Linked DNA regions of Homo sapiens: regions 1 and 2 are each linked to region 3. The links are contacts of gene promoters, found by promoter capture Hi-C in human tissues and cell types (Jung and others, 2019). All regions are on one chromosome and are shown on one strand. Each heading gives the region's core, a stretch centred on a gene start or on the middle of the fragment in contact. The rest is flanking DNA. Distances are from core to core; before and after follow the strand shown. Region 1 overlaps NDE1 (nudE neurodevelopment protein 1). Region 2 overlaps MPV17L-BMERB1 (MPV17L-BMERB1 readthrough). Region 3 holds the start of PDXDC1 (pyridoxal dependent decarboxylase domain containing 1).

Region 1 (4,002 bases), core at 906-3,405, 690 kb before region 3:
GCTCATGCCTGTAATCCCAGCACTTTGGGAGGCCGAGGCAGGCGGATCATGAGGTCAGGAGATTGAGACCATCCTGTCTAACACGGTGAAACCCTGTCCCTACTAAAAATACAAAAAAATTAGCTGGGCGTGGTGGCAGGTGCCTGTAGTCCCAGCTACTCGGGAGGCTGAGGCAGGAGAATAGCGTGAACCTGGGAAGCAGAGCTTGCAGTGAGCCGAGATCACGCCACTGCACTCAAGCCTGGGCGACAGATCAAGACTCCATCTCAAAAAAAAAAAAAAAAAAAAGAAAAGAGAAAGGAACGTGGCCTGAATTAGAAAGTGAGAATAGGCCAGGTACAGTGGCTCACACGTATAATCCCAGCACTATGGGAGGCCAAGGCAAGAGGACCACTTGGGACCAGGAGTTCAAGACCAGCCTGGGAAACACAGCAAGACCCTACCTTGACAAAAAAACTTTTTAAAAAATTAGACTGGTGTGGTGCAACACATCTGTAGTCCTAGCTACTCTGGAGGCTGAGGAAGGAGGATCACATGAGTCCAGGAATTTGAGGCTGCAGTAAGCTATGATCACGGTACTGCACTCCAGCCTGGGCAAGAGAGTGAGACCTTGTCTAAAAAAAAAGAAAGTAGGAATGAAGATGGAGGGAACAGAAATGGACTCCAAAAATATTTAGAAGGCAAACTTACCAGAACTTGATGAATTATGACTTTTCGGGGCAGGGGAGAGAGAAAAAGGAGGTGAGGACATCTTCTGGGGCTCTACCTTAGGCAATTGGGTGCCGCCACCATCCCCATCACCAGAGATAAAGACTTCCAGAAGGTGGCTGGGTGCAGTGCCTCGCACCTGTAATCCCAGCACATTGGTAGGCCAAAGCAGGTGGAATGCTTGAGCCCAGGAGTTCCAGACCAGCCTGGGCAACCTGGTGAGACCCTATCTCTACAAAAAATACAAAAACTAGCTGGTCATGGTGGTGTGTCTGTAGTTCCAGCTACTCGAGAGGATGAGGGGCAAGGAGAGGTCGAGGCTGCAGTGACCCATGACCATGCCACTGTACTCCAGCCTGGGCAACACAGCAAGATCCCGTCTCAAAAAAAAAGGACAATCAAAAGGAAAACTCGGCCGGGCGCGGTGGCTCACACCTGTAATCCCAGCACTTTGGGAGGCCGAGGCAGGTGGATCACGAGGTTAGGAGATCAAGACCATTCTGGCTAACATGGTGAAACACTGTCTCTATTAAAAATACAAAAAATTATCCAGGCCTGGCAGCGGGTGCCTGTAGTCCCAGCTAGTCAGGAGGCTGAGGCAGGAGAATGGCTTGAACCCGGGAGGCGGAGCTTGCAGTGAGCCGAGATGGCGCCACTGCACTCCAGCCTGGGTGACAGAGCGAGACTCAAAAAAAAAAAAAAAACAAGTAAAACTCTTGGGTAGGTGGGTGGGTTAAGGAGAGATAACAAACCCAGTCTCAGACATTCACAGCTTGACATGTCCATGACACACCAAGATGCAATATCGCAGCTGAAACTCAGGGTTGAAATTGGGTCAACAATATCCATTTGAAAGTCATGCGTCTATAGCTGGTTTTTCTCTTTTCCTCGTGACCATGGAAGAATCGCCTAGGGACTGTGTATGGAACAGTGAAGAATGCCAATATTGGAAAGGTGGGCAGTTTAAGAAATGGTAACCGAAGGAGGCAGAGAAGAAACAGAGTGAGAGAGATGAGAATCAGGAAGACTGTGCTGTCCTGGGAGTGGGCGGTTTCAAGGGAAAAAAGGGAAACATTCCAGTGTCACAAGGATGCAACAGAGAAGCAGGGAAGATAAGGGCTGGAAAATATCCACAAGGCTGAGCGAAAGTCGGTCACTGGCGGTGTGAGCAAGAACAGTTTCTACACAGTGGAGGAGGAAAGACGAAGAACTGAGTGCAGGAGTAACTGGGAGGTGAAAAAGAGGAAAGCGATGGAATTCTGGAGAATTACCTAAAAGACGATGAAATAAATTAGCCAACAGCTAGAGGATGTGGGCGGTAGGGGCCTTGGCTCTCAGGACTTTGAGCTGTTTCACAGCAGAGGTGAGGGAAGCAATTTTTTTTTTAAGAGATAGGGTCTCAATCTGTCAACCCAGCTGGAGTGCAGTGACACAATCATAGCTCACTGCATCTTTGAACTCCTAGGCGGCACTGATCCTCCTGCCTCAGCCTCCTGACTAGCTGGGACTACAGGTATAGGCCACTACGCCAAGCTAATTTTTTTTTTAAGAGATGGGGTCTTACTATGTTGCCTAGGCTGGTCTCAAATTCCTGGGCTCAAGCGATCCTCCTGCCTTGTACTCCCAAAGCACTAGGATTCTAGGTGTGAGCCACCACACCCAGCAAGAAAGCAGACTTCTATTAACAGTTGGGCTAACGGTTTGTATACTCCCTGTTGATAGAGGCTGTTTGATGTAATCACCTATTTTCTGAATTTATTTGAGGCTCTGAGCTTGTCAAAAGGGCATGAGGAATCCAAGTAAGATTGTGTCCAGGCCAGACTCAGTGGCTCGCATCTGTAATCCCAGCACTTTGGGAGGCCGAGGCGGGCAGATCACAAGGTCAGGAGTTTGAGACCAGCCTGGCCAATATGGTGAAACCCCATCTCTACTAAAAATACAAAAATTAGGCGGGCGCAGTGGCAGGTACCTGTAGTCCCAGCTACTCAGGCGGCTAAGGCAGGAGAATTGCTTGAACCCAGGAGGTGGAGGTTGCAATGAGCTGAGATCGTGCCACTGCACTCCAGCCTGAGTGACAGAGCGAGACTCCGTCTCAAAAAAAAAAAAAAAAAAGATTGTGTCCAAGGCCGGGCGCAGTGGCTCACACCTGTAATCCCAGTACTTTGGGAGGCCAGGGCAGGTGAATCACCTGAGCTCAGGAGTCTGAAACCAGCCTGGCCAACACACTGAAACCCCATCTCTACTAAAAATATAAAAATTAGCCGGGCATGGTGGTGTGCGCCTGTAATCCCCACTACTCGGGAGGCTGAGGCGGGAGAATCACTTGAACCCAGAAGGCAGAGGTTGTAGTGAGCCGAGATCGCACCACTGCACTCCAGCCTGGGTGACAGAGTGAGACTTCCTCTCAAAAAAAAAAAAAAAAAAAAAAAAAAAAAGATTGTGTGCAAGGTCCCTTCCTTCCCTCAAGAGAACTTAGAGGCTGGTGTGTATCCCTGGGGACAAAAGAATGAGCAAAAACCATCACTTTCTAAGATATAACCAACAAGCTATATAGTTTTGGTTAAAACATGAAATCATTAGGCTAAACATGTAAGTGTCAACACAGACACCACCACTAACTTCTGGTGGAAGTTAGTGAGCCTCACCCATGTTGAGCCAATGACAGAGGTGGGCCTAATTCATGCAGAACCAGGAAATGCACAATTGTACCTAGATTCAAGCACAAAACTTACCGATAACTCTGCATTTGTTGGGACTCATATTCACATCCTTTCTCCCTCCTACTTTTTCAATCCTTTCCCTCATTCAGAGAAAACATGCTATTTCCCGACCCACTCATCCCTCTGGAAAGCAGATTCTCTGAAAGTTTGATCAAGGCAGAAAGGCGAAATGTCATACAAAGCTGGCCAGACGTGGTGGCTCATGCCTGTAATCTCAACACTTTGGGAAGCTGAGGCAGGCAGATGACTTGAGGTCAAGAGTTCAAGACAAGCTTGGCCAACATGGTAAAATCCTGTCTACACTAAAAGCACAAAAATTAGCTGGGTGTGGTGGCAGGCACCTATGATCCCAACTACTCGGGAGGCTAAGGCATGAGAATCGCTTGAACCCGGGAGCCAGAGGTTGCAGTGAACCACGATCACACCACTGCACTCCAGCCTGGGCAACAGAGCAAGACTCCATTTCAAAAACATATAAACAAAAAATAAATAAATGTCATATAAAGCTAATGATTTGTAGTTTTGCTTGTTTTTTCCAGACATGCATTCATTTTTCCATCTTCTGTGACAGCAC
Region 2 (4,336 bases), core at 483-2,982, 580 kb before region 3:
TGCTTATCAAGTCAAAAAAAATTTTTTTTTTTGAGACGGAGTCTAGCTCTGTTGCCCAGGCTGGAGTGCAGTGGCATGATCTCGGCTCACTGCAACCTCCGCCTCACAGGTTGAAGCCATTCTCTGCCTCAGCTTCCCGAGTAGCTGGGATTACAGGCATCCACCACCAAGCCTGGCTAATTTTTGTATTTTTAGGAGAGATGGAGTTTCACCATCTTGGCCAGGCTGGTCTTGAACTCCTTACCTCGTGATCCACCTGCCTCAGCCTCCGAAAGTGTTGGGATTACAGGTGTGAGCCACTGTGTCCAGCCTCAAGTAAATATTAAATGTCCTTATGACTTAAGTAGTGTGAACAACTGACTTGGTTTGCCTGGGGCTGTCCCAGTTTCTGCACTGCAGTTTCCAGATCCTTGGAAACCTCTCAGTCCCAGGCAAACAGAGACAGCTGGTCACCCAAGATTTAAGACACTAGTCGTCGGACGCTGTGTTACTTGCAGCTGAAGACATTTTCACAGATACATATGTGTGGATAGGTGCATTTTTAATGTGTATTGGATCAAGACATACAGCTGTCCTGCTCATTGCAAGCATGACATCATGATGATTTTCCAATGCCATTAAATCATATTGTTCAAAAGACATGTGAATAGTTCATGCAAAGTGCTTTAAAAGCATAGCTGGAAGTTCGAATAAGCCATGCTTTAGAAGCATGGCTGGAACTTTGAATAAGCCACATTAGTCCAGGTCTCTGTACCATTAGGGCTGAACCTGGAAATCAAACTCTGCTGCTGCCGGCTCGTTCCAGAGAGAGATGTTATCTTCAAGAACCTGATTAATGTTCGGAAGGAAAAGAAAGCCAACCCGTGTCATTCAGCATCTTGGTCTTTCACGCTGGGACGATAGGGGAAAGCGGGTCATTTTTATCAGCGTTGGGTGCGGAGAGGTGATCAGGCCCTGCTGGAATAATAGAGCTGCTGCTTTACAAAATGTTTGTGAAAACGACATGAAATGGAGGCATCAGCAGCTTGAGTTGCAGCCTAATGGAAACCCAGCAGAGACCACGACAAAGGCAGAGGTAGGTTTTCAGAGGCAAGGATTGACTTTTAAAAATAGTCTTTATTGTCTCCTTTTAAAAATAAGTTACAGAGGCTGCAGGTATCTTAAGACAGGTGAGAAAAAGATGTCATGTCTGGGCCGGGCGCGGTGGCTCACGCCTGTAATCCCAGCACTTTGGGAGGCCGAGGAGGGCGGATCACGAGGTCAAGAAATCGAGACCAGCCTGGCCAACATGGTGAAACCCTGTCTCTACTAAAAATACAAAAATTAGCTGGGCGTGGTGGCACGTGCTTGTAGTCCTAGCTACTCAGGAGGCTGAGGCAGGAGAATCACTTGAACCTGGGAGGTGGAGGTTGCAGTGAGCCGAGATTGCACCACTGCACTCCAGCCTGGCAACAGAGCGAGACTCCGTCTCAATAAATAAATAAATAAATAAAAATAAATAAATAAGATGAGGGGTTTAGATGAGCCCTCGAGCCCCATTCTGCAAGCACAGAGAGGATACAACCCGCTTTAGACACAGCCAGATCTCAATGCAGATCTCAGTACCCCCATTGACTGGCTATGACCTACTTTGCTGCTCTCAGCCTCAGTGCTGTCACTGTTGAAAAGGGATTACACCTTTGTCTTGGGGTTGTATGAGAATCAAACAGGCTTGTGTGTGTGGTGCAGGCAGCCCACGGTTTTGCACAGGCAGTGTGGGTGTGTAGGAACAGCCACTTCCATCCACTCCTCCACCCTAGGTAAAAAGTCAGCTCACAGAGACTCTCCTGGACTATCTCAGCCAACATTTCTGTGCAAAATGTGTATCTCACTATCACATGCTATTTTTTTTTTTTTTGAGATGGAGTTTCGCTCTTGTCGTCCAGGCTGTAGTGCAATGGCGGGATCTTGGCTCACTGCAACCTCACCTCCCAGGTTCAGGCGATTCTCCTGCCTCAGCCTCCCAAGTAGCTGAGATAACAGGCACTTGCCACCATGCCCAGCAAATTTTTGTATTTTGGTAGAGAGGGGATTTCACTATGTTGGCCAGGCTGGTCTCGAACTCCTGACCTCAGGTGATCCACCCGCCTCAGCTTCCCAAAGTGCTGGGATTACAGGCATGAGCCACCGCGCCTGGCCAGCATGTGCTATTACAATTTCCTCAAATCAAATGGTTCCAAGATGATAAACATGTGCATTGGTTCAGCTTTCGTAGGATTCATGAGCTTAAACGCTATCCCTGGGTAAGGATAAGTGTTGATAAGTGTCCAGGGAGCCCCTGGCCTCAGCAATTTCTCAGCATCTTGCTGGGGACCAAGGGACCGGAGAGGTGCCTGCCAGTGTACATAGGAAGGGAATGCCCTCATGTTGCACCCTGGAAGGCCAATATGTCTGTTTTCTCTCTGTGGCCATTTTAATGGACTGTGGATTTACATCCACCTGTCACACTGGCCTTTCCTTTGATTGCAGTCAGACACTCGTTCCCAAACAAATGTCACCTTCTTCAAGACCCTTGTTCCCACTCTGTTCCCAAATGTCAACTTCCTCAAGCGCAGTTTATTCTTCTCTCTTCCAAGGGCTTTCTAGACTGCCTTAGTTTTCATTTTTCTTACAATAACAACTACTAATACTGCTCTTTTCTGTATGTATGATATAAAAAAATTATGGCCAGGCACAGTGGCTCATGCCTGTAATCCCAGTACTTTGAGGCTGAGATGGGAGGATCGATAGAGTCCAGGAGTTCGAGATTAGCCTAGGCAACATAGCGAGACTCTGTCTCTACACAATAAAAAAATTAGCTATGCCTGGTGGTGTGTACCTGTGGTTCCAGCTACCAGAGAGGCTGAGGTAGGAGGATCACTTCAGCCCAGGAGGTTGAGCTCCTGGGTGAGCCATGATCACACCACTGTACTCCAACCTGGGAGGCAAGGATTGACTTTTGAAAATAGTCAATTTTCTTGACGTGGGTTTCCAGCTGTCTGCCTTGACAGAGTGAGACCCTGTCTCAAAACAAACAAACACCAGTATTGCTTAGTTACCTTTGTTTTAGACCTAAAAGAATACTTGCTCCTGGCCGGGCACGGTGGCTCAAGTCTGTAATCCCAGCACTTTGGGAGGCCGAGGCGGGCGGATCACAAGGTCAGGAGATCGAGACCATCCTGGCTAACACGGTGAAACCCTGTCTCTACTGAAAATACAAAAAATCAGCCGGGCGTGGTGGCGGGCACCTGTAGTCCCAGCTACTTGGGAGGCTGAGGCAGGAGAATGGCGTGAACCTGGGAGGTGGAGCTTGCAGTGCGCTGAGATCATGCCACTGCACTGCAGCATGGGCGACAGAGCGAGACACCATCTAAAAAAAAAAAGAAAAAAAAAAGAATACTTGGTCCTTTTTTTTTTCTTTTTTAGAGGCAGGGTCTTACTATATTGCCCAGGCTGGACTTGAACTCCTGGGCTTAAGGGATCCTCCTGCTTCAGCCTCCCAAGTAGCTGGGAACACAGGCATATACCACCACACCCAGCTTGGTCTATTTAAAAAATTATACAAATATTACATAAATATGGTCTCACTATAAAAACATCAAACAATACAGAAGTATAATTGCTAGTACTTATTGAATGCTTTCATATGATTGGTGTCAGGCTCTGGATTAAGCATTTTACACAAATCATCTCAGTGAACTCTTGCAGCAACTCTATGAGGTAAGGACTATTATTATTATCTCTTAGACAGGATAAAGAACTTGTTCAACGTCACAGAGTAAGTGGTAGGAACTTGAACTCGGGCAGTCTGATCTGAGCCCATGCTCTCGACTGGGACTGTGAAAGCTCCAGCCAGTGACTGGAGTTCAAGGAAGACAGAGATCAGGATAGTCTGGGAGAAGGCTGCTCAAATCGAGATGCAACTTACAGGGGAGGGCACAACTTGGAGGGGTCAGGAAAAGATTCCAGGCACTCAGAGAGAAGGGGGAGCTGAGACAAATATTAGGAATGGGTGTGGTATGCCAGGGTAGGTGACAATGAAGAGTCTGCCCAATTAGGACATATCAGGGACATATGTGTCTGCGTTGTAAAGAACCTTAACATGGGAGCCATCTTAGGTTCTAGAGTGAGAGCATGGCATGGAGATGTGTCTATGAAACCCAGTTTGGAAGACATGGTGATCAGTATTTCCACACCAAGGAGAGAGTGCACTCTCCCTTTGACCTTCTGTCTAAGACGATCCAAGGAATTCCTGGAAGATGCGTTTGCTCCTCAATCTTTAGCTGGGGTTGGCAAACTATAGCCCACAGTCAAAATC
Region 3 (4,213 bases), core at 524-3,023:
TTGGGCCAGAGAATTCTCCAGCGTGGGGGGCTGTCCTGTGCAACGTAGGATGTTTAGAGGCGTCCCTGGCCTCTACCCACTAGGTACCGGCAGCACCTCCCTGCCCCCATTGTGACAATCAAAACTATGTCCAGAGATAGCCAAATGTCTCCTGGGGAAATAAATTGCCCCCTGCTTTAAGAACCACTCATCTGGACAAACTCAAAGTACCAAAAGGTAGACACCCTGCTAATCAGACGACCGGAAAGACTTTATTCCCAGCCAGGAAAACACGTAACATTCACCCCAGAGATGGCACAAGAAAACCATATTATCTTTTTCTTGTCTTCCACCCAATTTATGCTAAGCAACCCAGGAGTAGGCTATACCACTGTGAGCACATGAAGACATCTGGCCCAACCTTTACAATTATTGCCTTCAACTCTCCAGTGACAAGTGAACAAAATCTACAGCAGCTGCTGCCTTGAAAAAAGACAAAATATATTATTCCTACCAGCTCAAAATTAAAATGTAGCCGTCTTAAAACACGAGCATTGCTCCTGAATGCCACATGCATGAAAAACCGGGTATGCACTGGATTGGACAAGCAGACTCCCAAGCTGGAACAGACAGAAGGGCTTTGAGGGAGGGCAGAATGTCAGGTACCGAAAGCAGGAATCCGTGAAGAAACCCAAACTGGTTTCCATTTACAAGCCCTAACACTGGGACAATGAGAATCCGTTTCACATGGTAGAGCAGTCAGCCTGGTACACCACGCTGCCGTTCCCCCAAGGGGAAACCAGAGGTAGGCTCTGTTACCAGTGGATTTCGAGTTGACTCGGGGATCCCTCCTCGCCACTGGAATGGGGGAGCCAGGAAGTTGTGGAGCAGCTGCGATCCCCAAAACTCAATTCGCAATCTACGCAACACCCACCCCTTTCTGGAACTCAGAGGTTCTCGCCCGGTGATCGCAGGCTCAGCATCAGAATCACCTGCGTGGGGCGGAGTGGGAGCGGGGCGGTGGCGGTTAAACACGCAGTTCCCGGTCCCGCCCCCAGAGGTTCTGACCCCGGGACTGAACCTCCGCATTTTACCAAAGGCCCCAGGTGATTCCCACTCAGGCTGAAGTTGGAAAACCACTGCTTTGGCAATTTTCATTCCTAACTCGGAGACCAAGAAAAACCTACAGGTTTGCAGCTGGCTCTGAAATAACTGCGGCTTCTTTCCGGGAGCATCTGGGGCCGCCAACGGAGAGCTCCCGGTCCTCCGAAAGGGCCAGCCGAGCTCAGGCCGGCCACTCGCGGAACCTCGGCAGGGCCCAAGGTCGGCCCCGCGGTCCCAGTCCTGGGCTCCGGGCCCGTCGCGGCCCCCACCGAACCCCGCCCAGCCTCTTCGGCCCACGGGGACCCAAGAGACACCCGGCCCCGTGACGCGCCCGGGCCCCAGCCGCCCTCCCGGCGAGGCCTCCTCAGGCAGGGCCTGTCAGCCCGCGTCCCCCTGTCCGGGTCACAATGGCAGCTCGCGACTGGGAAACAGTTGCCTCGGAAGCGGGAGCCCCGGGCCGCAGCACCGTCCCCATCGCCCCCTCCCGGCACGGACCTTCTCCAGGGACGCGTCCATGGCTGAGGCGGCCGGTGGTGGCCTGGCGGTCCCGGGCTCTACTTCCTCCTCCCGCGCCCCGCAGCTCCTTCCACGCTGGCAGCGCTGACGTCCCCCGCGCCCGCGGCCGGCGGGGCGGAGAAGAGGAGGAGCTGCCAGGCGGCGCCGCGGGCTGCCGAACCTGATGGTTGAGAGGCGGCGGGGCGGGGCCCCGTAGCGCTGGGCGGAGCCCTCTGGGATTCCGTACCTGGGCGCCACGCCGGCCCTCCCTAACGTGCGCAGGTGAAGGGGGGAGGATGCCCGGTGGATTGTTCACCAAACTCTTTCCAGCAGCCTGTTGCAATCATCAAGGTAGAAGTATAATAATCACAAAGTACTATTCATGGAGTGAAAGGCTGGAAATACTAGTGACGCACCTCACTTCCGGGCCCAGGCTTCCAAGTCTCCCGCCTCACCTCCCGCCGGCATCCCTCGAGAATGGAACAGGCCATTCGCCAAGGAGGCGGTGAGCGAGTGGGCAACCTTGCGCATGCGCAGGACTCGCAGCGTCCTCGGCGCCCGGGGACTTGGGGGTTTTGGGGTTGGGGGCTGCTTAGTGAACGCTGTTCAGAGAAGGCACTGATCTAAGCTGAGGTGTTGTCTCAGACCTTACCGCCGAATTCTAGACGGAAAAAATTGTTGTAACAACCGGTCCAGCCTCTTTCATGTCACAATTATCACTTGTCAGGTAATGGGTAGTAGTAATAATGATAATATTAATACATCAGCTGCTGTTCTTCCATTTTCCTATTTCAGCAGCTCTAGGAGATCATTATCCCCATTTCGCAGTGCCGATCTAGGTAGGATTCAGACCCAAGCCCCATGAGTCCACATACTGCTTCCACTCCTACTTTACTTTAAATGTTTTAAAAAGTTAATTTTTTATTAATTTTTTTATCTTGTTAACCGATGAACTGAAGAGAAAAAAAATTAAAATCTCATTTTAATAGAGAAGGTAGGGGTGTCTCACTATGTTACCCAAGCTGGCTTCAAACTCCTGGCCTCAGGCGATCTTCCCGTCTCAGCTTCCCCAAGTGCTGGGATTACAGGCATGAGCTACCACGCCCGGCCACTTTTGCAATTTTACTGCAATGTGTTTCGAACGAATGGGGAGGGCGTACATTTGCTTAGTAGATTCCTCCCACCTTAATGTGGGAAACTGATATAGACTACCACAGTGGCAATCAATGGAACACTTCACCTCTGCGATGACGCTACAACCACAATCTTACTCCTTTTCTCTCCTGTTTTATACTCTTCGTCCCGAAATCTGTGTAAACAGGGTCACATTTTCAGCGCAGTAACTCCATGTTTTGAGCTATCTACGTTGTATTTGGTAAATTGCCTGGTTATGTTAATAAAATTATTTTCTACCAAAAAACCCTTGTGTGCTGGTTTAGACTGTACTGTGGGGATTATTCTGACTCTCTAAAGAGCTTTCCAAACAGAAGGAAAGATAGATTTATGTCTTTCAAGAATTGAAGATTGAATGTACCCCTGCTTGAGCAAAACAAGTCACTTTTCCAACGTGTTATGAAATTTTTCAAACGTAGAAAAGTTTAAACAGTTGTACAGTGAACAACCATATACCCACTACCTAGATTCTACAGTTAATTTTCCCTATATTTGCTTTAATCACATATGCATCCATATATCCATCCATCGATATATGTTAGTACATTTCACCTCTGAGCACCTCAGCATGGGTATCATTCAAAACTAGTAAATTTTACTAAAGTCACCTCCAAGTTTCTGTGGATTACATTACAAAGTATAATAGATTCTACAAAACAAATACTAGAGAGAAAAGTTAACTTTACTGTTTTAAAAGTAGACTTTGAAAACCCAACATGAAAAAGTGGAAATAATCAACCGTATTATTTATTATATTTAGCCAAACATTTATTGACTGCCATCTTGGACAGTTGTGCTGGAAATAGTATGTAAAAGAATAAGAGGCTGGTTCAAGAGCAGCCTGGCCAACAGAGTGAAACTCCGTCTCTACTAAAAATACAAAAAATTAGCTGGGCGTGGTGGCAAACACCTGTAATCCCAGCTACCTGGGAGGCTGAGGCAGGGGAATCACTTGAACCCCGGGGGCAGAGGTTGCAGTGAGCCGAGATTGTGCCACTGCGCTCCAGCCTGGGCAATAAGACGAGACTCCATCTCAAAAAACAATAAAAATACAAATAAGAGGCTGGGCCGGGCGCGGTGGCTCACGCCTGTAATCCCAGCACTTTGGGAGGCCGAGGCGGGCGGATCACGAGGTCAGGAGATCGAGACCATCCTGGCTAACACGGTGAAACCCCGTGTCTACCAAAAATACAAAAAGAAATTAGCCGGGCATGGTGGCGGGCGCCTGTAGTCCCAGCTATTCTGGAGGCTGAGGCAGGAGAATGGCGTGAACCCGGGAGGCGGAGCTTGCAGTGAGCAGAGATCGCACCACTGCACTCCAGCCTGGGCGACAAAGCGAGACTCTGTCTCAAAAACAAAATATAATAAAAAATTTAAAAATTTAAAAAAGGCTGGGCGCGGTGGCTCATGCCTGTAATCCCAGCACTTTGAGAGGCCGAGGTGGGCGGATCACCTGAGGTCA

What was found. The method cuts DNA at HindIII sites, captures the fragments that hold promoters and counts their contacts. A contact is called where the count stands out against the background at its distance.
Region 1: a contact is called between a fragment that was not itself captured here and the fragment with the promoter of PDXDC1 in region 3, in 2 of the 25 tissues and cell types used here (liver and spleen).
Region 2: a contact is called between a fragment that was not itself captured here and the fragment with the promoter of PDXDC1 in region 3, in 1 of the 25 tissues and cell types used here (dorsolateral prefrontal cortex).

Annotation. Positions count from the first base shown.
Region 1 is chr16:15,658,567-15,662,568 of GRCh38, reverse strand. The region is part of intron 1 of NDE1 (nudE neurodevelopment protein 1); the gene reads right to left. Among named protein-coding and RNA genes, the nearest start is that of NDE1, 10 kb to the right of the region's middle. The HindIII fragment of the contact is 8,992 bases long and covers 1-4,002 here.
Region 2 is chr16:15,553,740-15,558,075 of GRCh38, reverse strand. All of the region lies in intron 2 of MPV17L-BMERB1 (MPV17L-BMERB1 readthrough), which reads right to left. The region is part of intron 2 of BMERB1 (bMERB domain containing 1); the gene reads right to left. Among named protein-coding and RNA genes, the nearest start is that of MIR6506, 55 kb to the left of the region's middle. The HindIII fragment of the contact is 5,471 bases long and covers 1-4,336 here.
Region 3 is chr16:14,972,586-14,976,798 of GRCh38, reverse strand. PDXDC1 (pyridoxal dependent decarboxylase domain containing 1) reads right to left here and starts at 1,773. Exons shown (of 23, transcript NM_015027.4): 1 at 1,579-1,773. The coding sequence starts at 1,599. RefSeq lists an enhancer at 1,692-2,455 and a silencer at 2,613-2,907. The HindIII fragment of the contact is 18,558 bases long and covers 1-4,213 here.